2 separate regions of the Homo sapiens genome follow, and region 2 is linked to region 1. The links are contacts of gene promoters, found by promoter capture Hi-C in blood cells and fetal thymus (Javierre and others, 2016). All regions are on one chromosome and are shown on one strand. Each heading gives the region's core, a stretch centred on a gene start or on the middle of the fragment in contact. The rest is flanking DNA. Distances are from core to core; before and after follow the strand shown. Region 1 holds the start of COX6A1 (cytochrome c oxidase subunit 6A1). Region 2 overlaps RSRC2 (arginine and serine rich coiled-coil 2).

Region 1 (4,022 bases), core at 1-2,500:
GCTATACTGTGTGTTTACACATAGGTGTGTCTTTAGAGGAAAGGGTTCAAAGCTTTCATTAGATTCTTTTTTTTTCTAATAAAGAAAAAAGCTTTGTTGCCCAGGCTGGTCTCAAACTCTCAAGCTCAAGCAATCTGTCCGCCTCGGCCTCTCAAAGTGTTGGGATTACAGCCATGAGCCACCACGCTGGTCCTCATTACATTCTCAAAGGGGCCTATTGAAAAAAAAAAAAAAAAAAAAAAAAAAGGCCGGGCACAGTGGCTCACGCCTGTAATCCCAGCACTTTGGGAGGCCGAGGAAGGCGGATCACAAGGTCAGGAGATGGAGACCATCCTGGCCAATATGGTGAAACCCTGTCTCTACCAAAGTACAAAAAAAAAAATTAGCCAGGCATGGTGGTGCGTGCCTGTAATCCCAGCTATTCAGGAGGCTGAGGCAGTAGAACTGCTTGAACCTGGGATGCAGAGGTTGCAGTGAGCCAAGATTGCACCGCTGCACTCCAGCCTAAGCAACAAGAGTCAAACTCCGTCTCAAAAAAAAAAAAAAAAAAAAAAAAAAAAAAGATGAGACTGTTGAGTCAGGATTAGGATCCAGGTCTGCTGGCACCAATTTCAGTGCTCTTTATACTTTCTGTTGCTATTCATTCATTCATCCATTCATTCAGCAAATTTATATCAAGTATCTGGTATGTGCCAGGTATGATTCCAAATTACACCATTCCCAGATTATTCTGAGAATGCTGCAGTGCCAAACTCTTGGTATCACAGACTTTATATTCTAGTGGGGGAGACAGACAAAATAATAATATAACGACGAAGGTGCAATGTTATGTGCTATGAGAAAACGCAGTCGGAGGATGGCGAGGAAGGGGAACGGAATTTTAGATAGGGCGGTCTGGGATCAGAACCTCCAGATGCCCGTCCATGGACTCCAACGAAGGGAGCGATTCCAGGTACCAGGGCACCCTGCACAAACCTCTCTTGAGCTTCCGCCTCGCCCAGGTGGGGACGGTAGGGAGACCGGAGGGCACACGCATGCGCACGAAGGAAACGGTAAAGCCTGAAGGGAGGTGCAGAGCGCATGCTCTCTCTTGCCCGAGATGCCGAGGATTTTGACAAGGACTCCGTCGTCCCGGATGATAGTGCTCAGGTTAATGCCAGTGGGAGGGCGGCGCCCAATAGTAACTTCCTTTGGAGGTTGTAGTACCGCCCCCAGAGCCAATTTTCCACTTCCGCTTCCGGCGCTGCGGCAGTCCAGATCAAAAATGGCGGTAGTTGGTGTGTCCTCGGTTTCTCGGCTGCTGGGTCGGTCCCGCCCACAGCTGGGGCGGCCTATGTCGAGTGGCGCCCATGGCGAAGAGGGCTCAGGTACTGGGGCCGGGGTCGACGGGTCGAGCCTCAGCCCCACTCGGGCGAGACAGGGAGGGACTGTGACCTTGGCCCGAGGCCTTGCGGGAGGGAAAGTGAGACCCGGGCCCGCCCCATACCGGCGCTGAACGTTTGTGGCTTCTCCGCAGCTCGCATGTGGAAGACTCTCACCTTCTTCGTCGCGCTCCCCGGGGTGGCAGTCAGCATGCTGAATGTGTACCTGAAGTCGCACCACGGAGAGCACGAGAGACCCGAGTTCATCGCCTACCCCCATCTCCGCATCAGGACCAAGGTACGCCCTTGTACATCTCTTCAAGCGTCCGTTCTCTTTTCGTTATGTGTGCCTTAGTGCAAGTTCTTCATTCTCTGAAGGCATGGGTGCCAGGCGTGTACAGCTTGTTTATCCTCACAAACAGAAAATGTATTTTCTTCCATTTTGTGGATGGACAGCTGACACTTGGGATTACGTCTCAATTCTCTTCTTCAAGGTCATACAATAAGTGCTCTTCAGTTTCCCTTTTCTCCGATTCATCCTACCTCCTGCCTTCTGAGACAGTTCTTTTTTTTTTTTTTTTTTTTTTTTTTACTTCTGAGACAGTTCTGAAACAGGTGTCCGTTGTGTAAAGCCTGGAGGTTTGGGAAATCCAATTAGAGTGGCAAAGTCTGAAGGTGGTTCGCGTAAGCGAACCCAGCAGCTACATGGGAGGCTGAAGCAGGAGAATCCCTTGAACCTAGGAGGCGGAGTTTGCAGGGAGCTGAGATCGTGCCACTGCACTCCGGCCTGGGCAACAGAGCGAGACTCTGGTCTCAAAACAAAACAAAACAGCAACAACAAAACATGGGCATCTGGCAGCTACTAGTTGCATAATGAAGAGACTGACAGCTTTCTCTATTCCCCACCAATACCTTTTCTCGACTGTTTTATCATTGGTTGTTGATGTAGATATATTACAATGTTGTGTCCTCTGTTGTTTGCTGTATCTTTAACAAGGGCTTATTCTGATTCTTCAATACTGGCCATGCGCGGTGGCTCACGCCTGTAATCCCAGCACTTTGGGAGGCCAAGGTGGGTGGATCGCCGGAGGTCAGGAGTTCAAGACCAGCCTCGTCAACATGGCGAAACACTATCTCTACTAAAAGTACAAAAAGTAGCCGGGCGTGGTGGCGGGCGCCTGTAATCCCAGCTACTCGGGAGGCTGCGGTGGGAGAATCTAGGAGGTTGAACCCAGGAGGAGGAGGTTGCAGTGAGCCAAGATCCAGCCATTGCACTGCAGCCTGGGCAACAGGAGTGAAACTCCGTCTCAAAAAAAAATAGTAATAATATACTTGATCTTAGCCAAAAGGCCGAGAAGTGATGAAAAAAGTTATTATTATTATTATTATTATTACATCACCTAGCCCATATAGGACTGGCCTTGTAGAAACTTAACCTAGACTCTTGAATTTGTTGAGTCTTTGAGCGGCACTCCCATCCTTGTACAATGCAATTAGAAGCCAAACAGTAAAGGTTTCTCAGCCTCAGCACTGTTGACATTTGGGGCTGGGTAATTCTTGTTGGGGGGCTATCTTGTGCATTGTGAAATGTTTAGCCATATCCTTGGCCTGTACCCACTAGGTGGCAGTAGTACCTGCGCAACCCCACTCCCGCTTCCCCCTCCCCCGCCCCCATCACAGTGTCTCCCGATACTACCCAGTGTGCCCTGAAGGGGCAAAATCACCCTGGGTTGGAGACCGTTGCCCTAAAGTAATGCTTTTCAAAGGTAATAGGCAAGATAATTCAGGGTGGGCTGCAGTTTCCCAGCCCAGATATTGTTTGAAGTCTGGGATGGTGCCAGAAATCTGCATTTAATTAAGCATCTCCCTCCCCTAATACTGCCACCATTTTGATATAGGTGATTTGAGGATTACACTTTCATAAACACAGCACTGGATATACTAGTTACTAGGGAGAGGATGATGAGTAACTAACTTGAGCTTGCATTTTCTGCCATCCATATTTGTTTCTGGAATTAAAACTGTCCTGTAGCCAGGATAACTTTAAGGGCTCCCCTGGTAGTTATAAGAGCTCCTTAAATAATGGGAAGGTTGAACTACACCAGTAGATAAAGGACTAATTTCCATTTTGTTTTTATATATGATCTGTCACCCCGTTATAAGCAGTTCATGACGGTGTTCTTTCTAAATTATTTTCTGGAATTATCTAACTGACATCTTCACTCCACAGCCGTTTCCCTGGGGAGATGGTAACCATACTCTATTCCATAACCCTCATGTGAATCCACTTCCAACTGGCTACGAAGATGAATAAAGAGAATCTGGACCACTACCCGGGCACCAGGGACCACAGCACTGGTTTGGACCGTTACTCTGCACATGGACCAGAAAAAGTATATGGGACCTTAAGCTCACCTTCTTTACTTGTATCAAATGATGACTGGTATACTGGTCTCCCATCCCTTTGCTTGTGGCAGGAGATGGCTTAAATAAATAACTTAAATTTAGATTGGTCATGAGCTGAGAGTTACTTTCTTTGGTTGTGTTTTTTCGCAGAAATTAGCATTTGAGCTTCAAGTCAGTGTCCAAGTTGAAAAGAAATTGGCATTAGTTATTTCTGTTTCCACAGTGAAGGTCTAGGCTGCTGTTTAGTGTTACAGG
Region 2 (4,022 bases), core at 993-3,492, 2.1 Mb after region 1:
AGAGTGGGAGACCAGCCTGGCCAACAGCCTGAGAACCCCATCTCAGGTACATTGTCATGGGCCTTTGGTGCCAGCTACTCAGGGGAGTGAGGTGGGAAGATCACTTGGACCAATATACATATACACACATATTTTATTGGACAGTGCTGCTCTAGATGAGCAAAGTACAGGCTGTATCACTCATCATGTATGGTCAGCTCCTAAAATAACTGTAGACACACAGGAAGCTTTTGCGTCCACACTGCCTTAGAAGGTCATGAACATTTTTAATAAGATTGATTTAAAAAGGCAGAGCTTAATTGAAAAATGTTGATGATCACGAAATGAAGGATCCATAGTGTCATTTCCTTAGAAGGCTTAGATTTGTCACTGAAACACGGTGAAAAGCCATTTTGCCATAGAATTTCTGTGCTCTGGGAAAATGAAAGGTTTATTAAAGTACATTAAAAATCTTACAATCTGGCTAGGTGAAGTGGATCACACCTGTAACCCCATCACTTTGGGAGCCCTGAGGTGGGAGGATTGCTTGAGGCCAGGAATTCAAGACCAACCTGGGCAACGTAACAAGACCTTGTCTTTATAAAAAATTAAAAACAAGCTAGGTGTGTTGGTGAGCACCTGTGGTCCCAGGTACTCAAGAGGCTGAGGTGGGAGGACTGCTTGAGCCTGGGGGAGCCTGCTGCAATGCACTGCACTCCAGCCTAGGACAGAAAGCAAAAAAAAAGAAAACACCCCATTACTTCATTTTCATGTATAAAAAAAATACCTAATGAGCAAGTTGGCAAGACTTAATTCCAGCTTTTAAAATAAGGCTGTCAATCTTATTCCTGTAGTCTTCCCTGATTGTAATGTGCTCTCATTCTGTGATGTTTTCCAAAGGATTTTTCAAAGGAAAGCCAAACCTTATTACTTTGCTGTAACTGAAGTAAATTAACTTCAAGTTTTGCAGGCCCCCCCCACCCCTTGGCTCCAGATTTATGTTCAATCTAGTAACAAAACATTTTCTAGGCTGGCTGCAGTGGCTCACGCCTATAATCCCGGCACTTTGGGAGGCTGAGGAGGGTGGATCACCTGAGGTCAGGAGTTCAGGACCAGCCTGGCCAACATGGTAAAACCCCACCTCTACTAAAAATACAAAAATTAGCTGGGTGCGGTGGTACGCCTGTAATCCCAGTTACATGGGAGGTGGAGGTGGGAGAATTGCTTGAACCTGGGGGGCAGAGGCTCTGGCAGTGAGCCGAGATTGTGCCACTGCACCCAGTTTAGGCAACAGAGCAAGATCCTGTCTCAAAAAAACAAACAAAAAAAATTTCTAATATTTTAATATTTTATAGTCTATGCTGGAGAAGACTTCAAAGGGATAATGAGCAAAAAGCATGCAAAGAACTTGTTATAAGGCACTTTATTAAAATAAAAGTGCTTACATCCCTTTAATGCATTAATCTATCTCCTGAATAACACATGTAATATTTGACAAATACTGAATACCAAGTCTGTCCCTTATAATAGGAAAACATACTATTTTAGTAAGTTTTCTCCTTCCACCTTTTACATTTTTGCTCACCACGGTATTGACTGTAGTATAGTTAACTGGCCTTAAAAAGGGTGGTGGGGAGGGGATTTCTAGCTAGTGTTTTCTAACAGCAATTGCCAAATGCTACAGAAACTATAAAACAAATTCAAAGAAACATCCCAGGTAACTTAAATTAACACCAGTTTTGAGAAAACCATTTTTATTATCATTACCACCCAGCTTATCTGTGCTGGATTATGTACCAAATGGCCAGATCTTCTAAAGAACATCTACATAACATTTCTTTCATGTTTCAAGAGATGAAAATAACTGTACAAGGTTAAGTACAAAAGTACACAAGACAGCGGACACGAAAAAATCCATGTATGAGATTTTATCCCCACCTGCAGCTTTTATATATTTGAAAAGTAGAATTCATGAACTAAAAAATATTATCCTTCTATAGTCCTGTCAAGTTTAATGGAAGTGGGTTTAACCTGATTACAACACTAACACCAGTATCACTGATCTGATATTTACAAAAATTTGTATTTTTCAATAAATTAAAGTCAATGCAACACCCATGCAAGCTAGAGTGCTAGCTGTTTGGTGAACAAGGACGTGACATCAGAACAAGAAGTCTATAAGTCCCAAACTTTACAAGTGTGATCATTTTCAAACTGCATCCATTCCTCGCATTGAAGATGTGAAACCCAAACCCATTCCTCTTTGTGTGTGGGTTTGTGATCTTGCCATTTCATACTGAGCATCTAAATTTCGAAATACTTCTTCCTGCTGCTTCAGAGTCTTGTAACTTTCTTCATCAACTGAGCTACATCCAGCTTCATCTTCACTCTAAAAATCAGACATAAAACATTACAATGAATTCAGATGGAGATAAATATTCTCTCACTTGACACTATTTTTTATGTATTTTTTTTTTTTGAGATGGAGTCTTGCTCTGTTGTCCCGTCTGGAGTGCAGTGGTGCCATCTCGGCTCACTGCAACCTCTGCCTCCTGGGTTTAAGTAATTCTTATGCCTCAGCCTCCCAAATAGCTGGGATTAGAGGCACATGCCACCACGCCCAGCTAATTTTTGTATTTTCAGTAGAGACGGGGTTTCACCACATTGGTCAGGCTGGTCTCGAACTCCTGACCTCAGGGATCCCCCCTGCCGCCTGCCCCCCGGCCTCCCGAAGTGTTGGGATTACAGGTGTGAACTAGGCTGACACTATTAAATTATACTTTTGGCCGGGTGCAGTGTGGCTCACGCCTGTAATCCCAGCACTTTGGGAGGCTGAGACGGGTGGATCACCTGAGGTCAGGATTTCGAGACTAGCCTGGCCAACATGGTGAAACCCCGTCTATACTAAAAACAAAAAACAAACAAACAAAAATATACTTTTGGGATATGTATTTGATCTCAATAACTTAATTTCCATTCATTATTGAACACCTCCAAAGGACAAGGCAATGTTCTTTCTAGGTCTGGAATATAGCAGGGTGTAACAAAAGTTAACTTCAGTTTAGTAGGTTGGAAAAAACATAATATGTAGAAGATGTCAGGGTATAAATGCCACAGAGGAAAGTAAAGTAGAAAATGGGGATGGAGGCTGGGCGCAGTGGCTCAGAACTGTGATCCAGGGCTTTGAGAGGCCGAGGTGGAAGGACTGCTTGAGCCTCGAAGTTTAAGGCTGCAGTGAGGTATGACTGCACCACTGTACTCCAGCCCAAGTGACAGAGCAAGCAGAGCAAAACCCCGTCTCTCTCTCTCTCTCCAAGTGTGTGTGTAGGGAGGACAGTGGGTAGGGGAGATGGAAATGTTTCAGAATGGGATTGCTTGTTATTTCACAAAAGGTGGTGGGAAAGAACTCAAAAACGCTGACACCTGAGTAAAGACCAGAACTAAGAAAATGAGGGAAGAACAGTGCAGGAGGGCTAATAGCTAATACAAAGATCCCCTGGCACATGTGAAACTCACCTTAATACCCATCAATTTCCTAAATTTGACATTTTGGTCCTTGTTTCCAAAATTCAATTTTTCCCATATTTCAGCAGATTGGGATTTGTCCTGTTAACAAACACTGAACTTTAAAATATGTAAAATTTAAATATTTTTTAGGACATGAAATCTCTCAACAATGTCTAAATTAAAAAAAAAAACACCATGGATAGCATTCAATCAATGTAAGTTTAATTATTTCAAGACTTAAGAAACCACAAAGCAAAGAAATACAAGCAAGAGGTTGGCGCCGTGCTTCACTCCTATAATCCCAGCACTTTGGAAGGCCGAGGTGGGCAAATCACCTGAGGTCAGGGGATCGAGACTAGCCTGGATGACTAGGTGAAACCCCGTCTCTACTAAAAATACAAAAAACTAGCCTGGCATGGTGGTGGGCACCTGTAGACCCAGGAGGGTCTCAGGAGTCTGAGGCAGGAGAATTGCTTGAACCTGGGAGGCAGAGGTTGCAGTGAGCTGAGATCACACCACTGCATTCCAGCCTGGGT

The links. Contacts are between HindIII fragments. The CHiCAGO score rates a contact against its expected background, and 5 or more counts as called.
Region 2: a fragment that was not itself captured here is called in contact with the fragment with the promoter of COX6A1 in region 1 in 1 of 17 cell types (monocytes); the score reaches 7.1 in monocytes.

Annotation. Positions count from the first base shown.
Region 1 is chr12:120,436,863-120,440,884 of GRCh38, forward strand. It overlaps COX6A1 (cytochrome c oxidase subunit 6A1), which reads left to right and starts at 1,251. Exons shown (of 3, transcript NM_004373.4): 1 at 1,251-1,367; 2 at 1,517-1,659; 3 at 3,592-3,868. The coding sequence starts at 1,265. The coding sequence ends at 3,675. It also overlaps the pseudogene LOC124903126. RefSeq lists enhancers at 1,288-1,497, 1,424-1,945. The HindIII fragment of the contact is 8,043 bases long and covers 90-4,022 here.
Region 2 is chr12:122,503,339-122,507,360 of GRCh38, forward strand. RSRC2 (arginine and serine rich coiled-coil 2) reads right to left here. Exons shown (of 10, transcript NM_023012.6): 9 at 3,496-3,585; 10 at 116-2,368. The coding sequence ends at 2,189. Among named protein-coding and RNA genes, the nearest start is that of ZCCHC8, 4.4 kb to the left of the region's middle. RefSeq lists a silencer at 731-931. The HindIII fragment of the contact is 4,035 bases long and covers 226-4,022 here.